Regions from separate parts of the Homo sapiens genome. Here all the other regions are linked to region 2. Evidence: promoter capture Hi-C in human tissues and cell types (Jung and others, 2019). All regions are on one chromosome and are shown on one strand. Each heading gives the region's core, a stretch centred on a gene start or on the middle of the fragment in contact. The rest is flanking DNA. Distances are from core to core; before and after follow the strand shown. Region 1 overlaps LIMCH1 (LIM and calponin homology domains 1). Region 2 holds the start of NSUN7 (NOP2/Sun RNA methyltransferase family member 7). Region 3 has its middle 18 kb from the start of RHOH.

Region 1 (3,093 bases), core at 279-2,778, 890 kb before region 2:
ATGTGTGAGTGCCTCTCTCTGCTCTCCAGATGTTGGACAATTTAAGTCTAAGAGAACTAAACTGAAAAACTGTACTTGTAACCTGTCTTCCCCAAGAGTATTCTAATAATCTGGCTGCACAGAAGGACTCTTAGCTGAGGTTTCTATTAGCATGGATATGACAAGCCATTGCATAATGCTGCCTCCATGTATTCAGTGGAGAATGTTGATTTCAGCAGCTGTGGCTTCTAGAAAAAATAAGCTGGGCCAGGTGTGGTGGCTCACGCCTGTAATCCCAGCACTCTGGGAGGCCAAGGTGGGCAGATCACTTGAGGTCAGGAATTCAAGACCAGCCTGGCCAACATGGTGAAACCCCTTCTCTACTAAAAATACAAAAAAAAAAAAAGAAAAAAGAAAAAAAATTAGGCATGCTAGCACACGCCTATAGTCCCAGCTACTAGGGAGGTTGAGGCAGGAGGATGGCTTGAACCTGGGAGGCAGAAGTTGCAGTGAGCTGAGATTACATCACTGCACTCCAGCCTGGGTGACAGAGCGAGACTCTATCTCAAAAAAATAAAATAAAATAAAGAATGAAAGAAAAGAAAAAGAAAGAAACTGTAGTCCTCGATAGAGGAGAAGGGCTGTGATTTTTCATCTATTTTAGACTATTGATTAATGGTATCTAAGAAAGATTAAGAAATTTGCAGGATTAGGTAGAAAAGTCTAACCCATGCTTTTAAACTTCATGGATCAAAATTCACTTAAGCAGGCCTTCCAGAAAGACACAAAAATTCGTCCCATTCTTCCTCTCACAGTTTAAAAAAAAAAAATCTTACTTTTAAAATATTCAATCTAGTCAGTTCATCTTTTAAGGTGATTTATAATCTTTGCTAAGATCTTAGAAGACTTAAACCTCTCTGAGCTGGGACCCTCTTACCATCCCACTAAGTAGTTTGTAGATTATGGGAGAGAAAAGAGGTCCCTTCATTCAACTCTGCCATCTATAATATCTACAGGTCAGAATTTTGGTTTAGGCCACTATGGGTGGCCATAGATCCAGGTTTTCTTCTGGGACCCCAAGAAGAAAATGGCAGCCTTCTCCAGGATCTGGGATTTGATTATCTCACCCAATGGGCATGGAGAAAATGAGAGCAGACCTTAAGAATTACCTTTGTCTGTCCTGCGTTCCCATCTCTACTCCCACTGTGAAGCTCTAACTAGCTCAGCCCAAATGTGGCCAGAAGCCAGTTAGTTAAATAAAAGGAGAAACTCGTTTGCCCTTTCATGTACCAGGAAGTACATGGTTGAACATCCCTAATCCAAAAATCTGAAATCTGAAATGCTCCAAACTCCAAAACTCTTTGAATGCTGACATGACCCCACAAGTGGAGAATTCCACACCTGACCTTGTGTGATGGGGTGCAGCCAAAACTTTGTTTCATGCACAAAATTATTTAAACTATTGTATAAAATCACCTCCAGTCTATATGTATAAGGTATATATGGAACATAAATGAATTTCATGTTTAGACTTGGGTTCCATCCTCAAGATACTTCACTATGTATATGCAAATATTCCAAAATCTAAAAAAGTTCAAAATCTGAAACACTTCTCATTCCAAACATTTTCTATAAGGCAGGCTCAACCTGTATGATTTTTTTTCTCAAGATTTTTTTTTTTTAAGAAATATCAGCAAACTGGCCAAAAAAGAAATAACAAACCTATGAGTGATATATTTATGCCATTTTCAAAAAAAAATTAAGAAGTTGAGAATTGATAATACTAGAAAGAAAATGGGCTGAGTTGTCATTCAGAACATGTTCCCTAGTTCAGGTTAGACTTGGCCTCCCAAATGAAGAGGTGTGTGTCTGGGGATGGGGGTTGGCGGATATGGGATCCTGGAGATGGCCAGCTTCCAGAATATTAATGTGACTTGGACTAATCCTGTGCTCCTCAGTACCTACGTCTATGCCCTTGGGCTGTTGGGATGAGGGCTCCTGGCTGCAGAGTCCAGGAGTCTCCCTTGGTGGTGGGTTGGCATTTTTGAGGGCCGGGATGGAATTACCCCAAGGGCCTGGAAATTGTTTCTGGGCCAAGTCTACCGTAAAGGAATTCAGAATAAAATGGCCTATGGCTCTCACAACGTACCGACTCCTTTGGTGGGCCAGGTATTGGGAGGGAAAGAGTGTGAAAGTGAAGAAAAGGGCAAGAAGGTGAAATTAAATCTATGGAAACATTCTTGGCTGGTTAGGAGGTGGAAATTTCTCTGTTTGCCTGTGCGGTAGGTCTGCCCCTGACCTATATTCTCCTTAAAGGGCTCATCTTTTTTTTGATTGGGCTCTATTTTAAGAATGTGTCAATTATTAATAAATATAGCCTGTGCCAAAAAACTGCCTTTAAAGATTTTGGAAAAAGGAGATATTAAGGGAATAAACTAAAAATAGTATAAGTTTCTATTTTAAGAATAAATTCCTGATATCAACTTTTCATTTTGTTCCCCACATGGTTTCATGTAAATTGTATCTGCTCTAAGCAGGAAACTCAGCACTTTGGATATCCCTAGATAAGAGCTCTGGAAAAAAAGCTCCTTTTACTCTTCTTGGTCCCTGGGGCTGCATTTTGTAAACTTAGAGAAGGCAAGAAGGGAGTCCCTGTCCCCACCCCTTTTAAGAAATCATTAACTTTTCCTGTGGGTGAAGTTTTGTGTTCAGGTGAAGGCAAAATTCAGAAACTCTTTAATTTCCCTTCCTTTCTTTCACCTTTCCCAGGGGTCTATTTTAAGCAAATTGTATAGCAGCCTTGCATTGATGAAGAAGAAATCCATTCTATCAAAATGTTTTCGCTCACCAAACCAAAGTAGTGTTTTGCCTGTCAATCTTATAAAATCCTCCTTTCAGTGAATGTTAAATATTGCCATTGCAGGTTTGAAAAGTAATAACCAGGGCTCAATTTTACAGACTACTTAACTCTGTGCAGTCAGTCAAGCTCAGGCTGAATTTGGTTTTGAGGCATGAGTGTTCTTTATGTCAGATCACACATGGGAAACTTGGCCCTGGAGTTTGACCACTTAGGGCTCAGAGTCCAAACTAAGCAGACATCTTGAACACAAACAT
Region 2 (2,815 bases), core at 286-2,785:
GTGAAAGCTCATAAACTAAAATACCAAAAAAGGTAAACACAGGGAATGGAAAGAAATACACAGGGAGGCCAGGCGTGGTGGCTCACTGCCTGTAATCCCAGCACTTTGGGAAGCTGAAGAGGGAGGATTCCTTGAGGTCCAGAGTTTGAGACCAGCCCAGACAATAAAGCGAGACCCCTAAGTCTACGAGGGAAAAAAAAATACAGGGAGAGGGAAATGATCATTGGAATAAATTGTTTCCTTGTTGAATGTAATGACCGCGCACTACACCGATCTAAGGACAAACACAGTGCACGGGGAAATCTGCAATCCTGGGCTGGAAGAGCTAGTTTCATGGGAACCCTAATTCCTTGACACTTGCAATTAACCAAAGATATGCACATGCCTAAAACCAAAACCTGGTGTGAATGAGGGGAAGGGAGGAGGAGGGCTGCATTCCCCAAATTCTCTCGCTATTATTTTCTTTTAGTGTTGATCTTCCAGACTGGCACAACTCACATTTCAGGGCACTGAAAGCCAGCTCATAAGACAAACGCTGAAAGGACTGATCCTCAGACTCGGACAAGGACCGCAGGGGTTCATTCCCATACTTGATTAAGACTTTCTGTGCCGACTTTTCGATTCGAATACCCTGAAAAATGTTGGCTGCCATGACATAAACGGAGTCCGGATAGCCCGTTTTTTCGGGCACACCAGCTGAGCTTTTCCCACCGGACAGAGGCAGGGAAGTGAGTTGGGAGATGATCTCGGGATCTTCTTCGTTCGAAAACTCCAGTTCGCCCGTGGAATTCAGCATGTCTGCCCCTCGCCTGTCGTGAGTCCTTCACCCTGGGGTTAGAATTCCGATGTTCCAGGAAACGGCTTTCCTCGCATCTGCAGCATGGTCTCTGTGAAGAGAGAAGGTGATTGCAGTAAATCACTCTTTCTGCAGCACCCCTGTGGGTGGCCCCCTTCGTTGTGGCCTTAAAGACTAAGAGGGAGCATTTCCCGTCCCATCTGAGTGTCCCAGACTTCGAGCCTGGGACGCTCAAAAAAAAAAAAAAAAGCGAGGAGGGGTGCAGCGGCGGAGGGAGAAGAGCCCCAAGGAGACCGACGGCTTCCCTCAAGCCAGTCTGGGGGCAGAGCTGCCCCCGGAGCCCCGTCCGCGTCCCCACAGCCCAGTCACCGGCTCCCCCGACTCCTCCCTTACCCCGAGGGCGGATGGTTCCCGGGGCTTCGGGGACGAAGACGCGGAGGGCGGCGTCGGTCACAGGCCCTTGGGAGCCCCGGGACTGCGGGGCGACGGCTGCTGCCCGCGAAGGCCGTTTGGTTCAAATGCAGCCACTCCCACCGGCAGGATTCGGGGCAGGGGGGTCGCAGCCTCTGGCGCCCGGTTCGCTCCGGTGTCGTGAAGTGGTGGGCGCCTCGGGGCCTCGCCTGGCCTCGCGCGTGAGGCCTTCGCGGACGTGGCGGCGAAGAGGGGTGAGCGCGGTGCCCGGGGTCTGGCTGGCTCAGGCCGAGGAAAGCTCAGCCTCCCGAGTCTCCGGCAGTCGACTGCTCCCGGACCGGGTCTTCATGGCAACCGCGAGCGGAGGTGGGGCAGGGGGCGCGGCGCGAGGGCCGTTCCCGCGGGATTTGGCGGGTGCTACCTGTTGCCGGGAGAGTCGCTCTTCCCCCAGCGCGCGGAGACACCTGTTTCAGCCCCTCCGAGCCAGAGGCCTCTTGCACAGTTCCTGGACCTCACCGGGCCTGAGTGCGTGCCCTTGGCTTTGTTTATAAACATTTGGGGATATTTTTGAGGTAGTCTGACGTAGTTCCGTGGTTTTAACTCACAAGTTCCTGAAGTCCCTGTTAAAACTACACATTCTTTAAAATATTTTTAAAATATAGTAATAATTTTTTTTTTGAGACATGGTCTCGCTCTGTCGCCCAGGCTGGAGTGCAGTGGCGCAATCTCGGTTCACTGCAGCCTCCTCCTCCCGGGTTCACGTGATTCTCATGCCTCAGCCTCCCGAGTAGCTGGGACTACAGGCGCCCGCCACCACACCCTGCTAATTTTTGTATTTTTAGTAGAGACAGGGTTTCACCGTGTTGATCAAGTTAGTCTCGAACTCCTGACGTCAAGTGATCTGCCGGCCTTGGCCTCCCAACGTGCTGGGATTACATGCGTGAGCCACTGCGCCGTCTGTAATAATTTTTTTTAATAACAGAGACAGGGTTCCCATTATGTTGCCCAGGGTGGTCTCGAATTCCTGGGCTCAAGGAGTCCTCCCTCCTCGGCCTCCCAAAGTGCTGGGATTTCAGGCGTGAACCACCGCCTCCAGCTAAAAAAAAATCCTTGGAACCCATCCTAGAGATTTGAGTTGCTAAGACCCAGTAATTTGCATTTTTATCAGGTAACTGGCGATTCTGATGCAATCAGCCCAAAGACCACAGTTTGAAAAACTCTGGTATAGTTGAAAGACAACTGGTCCTAATTCCACCTCTGCCTTTCCTCCTTAGGGATTTGCCCTTCCTTCTTTAGGCTAAGGCCATTTCCATTTCCAGCCAGTGGTTAGTAGGATGAAGGGGAAAGAGAGGGCAGCCCATATTTTTCAATGACCTGAAAGGTGCACATATCACTTTGGCTCACATTTTATTGGTCAGAACTCAGTCATATACCCAGCAACCAAGAGGCTGGTAAATGTGTCCAGCTAAAAATAAGGGAACTATTACTGTAGAAGAAGGAGAGAATGGATAATGGGGAAAAAATTAGCAGTACAGAACTCTAACCCTGACCCCTTCTCTCAGAAATCCACCCACTTTCATTATCCCCGGAATACGTTAAACATTCCGT
Region 3 (2,700 bases), core at 200-2,699, 570 kb after region 2:
AAGTGACTTTGCAGGTTTCAGAGTAGATTTTTTTTTTATTGTAGTAGATATTGCCAAATCCACTCCAGGGAAGTCCACCAGTGATGTATGAGAGTGACTAACTATCTGCCTGCATTATCACAACACCAGATGTTAGAAATCTTTTTAGATTTTATCAGAAATTTTTTTAGTTTTCTAGTTGAAAAGTGGTGTCTTGCTGATTAATTATTATTGAGATTCAACATCTTTTCACATATTTACTGGTCATTTGTATTTCTCCTCTAAAATGGCATATTTATATCTTGTGCCCATTTTTTTCTATTGAATATTGTTATATCAGTTTAGAAAAGTTGTTTGTATATGAAAGATATCAATAATCTGTTTATATGTTACAGACATTATCTCTCAGTCATTTGTCTTTATTTTATTTATGGTGTCTTTTGCCATGCCCAAGTTTTTAAGTTTAGCAATTGCTTAGAAAGATTTTACCACTCTAGGCCAGGCGCGGTGGCTCATGCCTGTAATCCCAGCAGTTTGGGAGGCCGAGGTGGGCGGATCACCTGAGGTCAGGAGTTCAAGACCAGCCTGACCAACATGGAGAAACCCTGTCTCTACTAAAAATACAAAAGTAGCCGGGCGTGGTGGCGCATGCCTGTAATTCCAGCTACTCGGGAGGCAGAGGCAGGAGAATGGCTTGAACCCAGGAGGTGGAGGTTGTCGTGAGCCAAGATCACTCCACTGCACTCCAGCCTGGGCAACAAGAGTGAAACTCCGTCTCAAAAAAAAAAAAAAAAAAAAAAGAAAGGCTTTACCACTCTAAAATGTAAACAATATTTTCCTATAATTCATGATTTATCATTCTTTCAAAATTACATTGCAATAATATAATGGTTAAGAGCACAGTCTCTGGCACCAACCTGCCCAAGTTTAAATCTTGATTATGCTGTGTAACCTCAGGAAAATTATTTAATTTCCATGTGCCTCAGTTTCCTCAACTGTTAAATGGGGATAATAATAGCCTCTACACCTCTTATGGCTGTTGTGAGGATTAAATGAATTAGTACATACCAACTGCTTAGCACCCTCTTGCAACACAGAAGATTTCAATAAACATTAGCTACTATTAGTTTTGCTGTGACTCAATGGTAGTTTTCCAAAATGTTTTTCGTTTGTTTGTTTGTTTGTTTGTTGAGATGGAGTCTCACTCTGTCGCCCAGGCTGGAGTGCAGTGGCTCGATCTTGGCTCACTGCAAGCTCTGCCTCCCGGGTTCATGCCATTCTCCTGCCTCAGCCTCCCAAGTAGCTGGGACTACAGGCGTCAGCCACCACACCCAGCTAAATTTTTTTGTACTTTTAGTAGAGTCAGGGTTTCACCATGTTAGCCAGGATGGTCTCGATCTCCTGACCTTGTGATCTGCCCGCCTCGGCCTCCCAAACTGCTGGGATTACAGGCATGAGCTGCTGCGCCCAGCCTCCAAAACGTTTTAATATCTACTAGGACCCATAAATAAATGCTCCACAAATACATCCATTCCTTATAATGGTCTTATGCTTTCTGCCACCTGCTGCTATCAATAAAAATGAAAAATCGGCAACCACAAAGACAGAAAATGAGAAGGGCAGTGTCACACTGCAAATCAAATAGAAGTACCAGCTGCAAAAACTCAGCCAGGTTTAAGCAAATACAAGAACTTGAGGCAGGGAGTTTCAACTGTGAGTCTTGCCCTGACAGAGCTCTCCGACAGCAGCTGCACTAAGCATGTCTTATCCCATGGAAGGCAAATGTGTGCTCATATTGAAAGGAAGTTCGTTCCCTACACATTTCGCATGTCTCAAGGAAACTGTGCAGACGGAGTCTGTTCAAACCTTTCCAAAACTTTGTTTTGTCCTGGGCAACTTATTTCGTTATCTAGAGAGCTGGATATTGTCCTTGTTAAGCATGGTAGCTGGAAGACCAAGAGTGGTGATTGTTTTTTACAATGATAAAGTATGCCCACGTTAATAATCATTGAAATCTACCAGAAAGGTACATGCTGCCCAAGTACCACTAGTTACAATTCTTCAATCTCTTTCATATCTGTGAGTACCTTTCTTGTGCCTAAAGATGAAGGTTTTTCTTTTCTTTTTTTTTTTGTTTTGGTGGCGGGGCGGGGGAGTAGTCTTGCCGGAGGTTTTCCTACAACATTTATATATCTTAAAGGAACAACTTTTGATTTTACTTGCTAACTCTTGCTTTATCATTATTTTCCAATTTATTCATTTCTGATTCTATCCCATTTGTGTTGACACTGACAGTTGAGAGAAAGGTAAAGATTGTTTTTAGATTGTACACATTTCTGAGCAAAGAATTCATCCTCCTGTTTTGTTTTGTTTTGTTGGGTTCTTTGTTTGTTTGTTTGTTGGACCCAGTCTCGCTCTGTCACCCAGGCTGGAGTGCAGTGGCATGATCTCGGCTCACTGCAACCTCCGCCTCCTGGGTTCAAGCGATTCTCCTGCCTCAGCCTCCTGAGTAGCTAGGATTACAGGCACCTTACTTTCTACTTACTGTTTTTTTGTTTTTGTTTTTTTCTGGTTGCTTAAGTTAAATGCCTCATCTTTCTGTTTTCTGTTGCTCTCATTTCATAACAAAAGCATTTATTTGAGACTATTTTATTCAAAGGACAGAGTGAACCCATGCAGGCACCTGGGCTATGTAAGATTTGTGAAAATAAAGTTGCTGTC

What was found. The method cuts DNA at HindIII sites, captures the fragments that hold promoters and counts their contacts. A contact is called where the count stands out against the background at its distance.
Region 1: a contact is called between a fragment that was not itself captured here and the fragment with the promoter of NSUN7 in region 2, in 1 of the 25 tissues and cell types used here (lymphoblastoid cells).
Region 3: a contact is called between a fragment that was not itself captured here and the fragment with the promoter of NSUN7 in region 2, in 1 of the 25 tissues and cell types used here (lymphoblastoid cells).

What each region holds. Positions count from the first base shown.
Region 1 is chr4:41,640,030-41,643,122 of GRCh38, reverse strand. All of the region lies in intron 14 of LIMCH1 (LIM and calponin homology domains 1), which reads right to left. Among named protein-coding and RNA genes, the nearest start is that of LIMCH1-AS1, 51 kb to the left of the region's middle. The HindIII fragment of the contact is 7,085 bases long and covers 1-3,093 here.
Region 2 is chr4:40,748,675-40,751,489 of GRCh38, reverse strand. It overlaps NSUN7 (NOP2/Sun RNA methyltransferase family member 7), which reads right to left and starts at 1,535. Exons shown (of 12, transcript NM_024677.6): 1 at 1,190-1,535; 2 at 499-887. The coding sequence starts at 796. The HindIII fragment of the contact is 15,367 bases long and covers 1-2,815 here.
Region 3 is chr4:40,177,839-40,180,538 of GRCh38, reverse strand. It overlaps a transcript of N4BP2 not described here. Among named protein-coding and RNA genes, the nearest start is that of RHOH, 18 kb to the left of the region's middle. The HindIII fragment of the contact is 6,789 bases long and covers 1-2,700 here.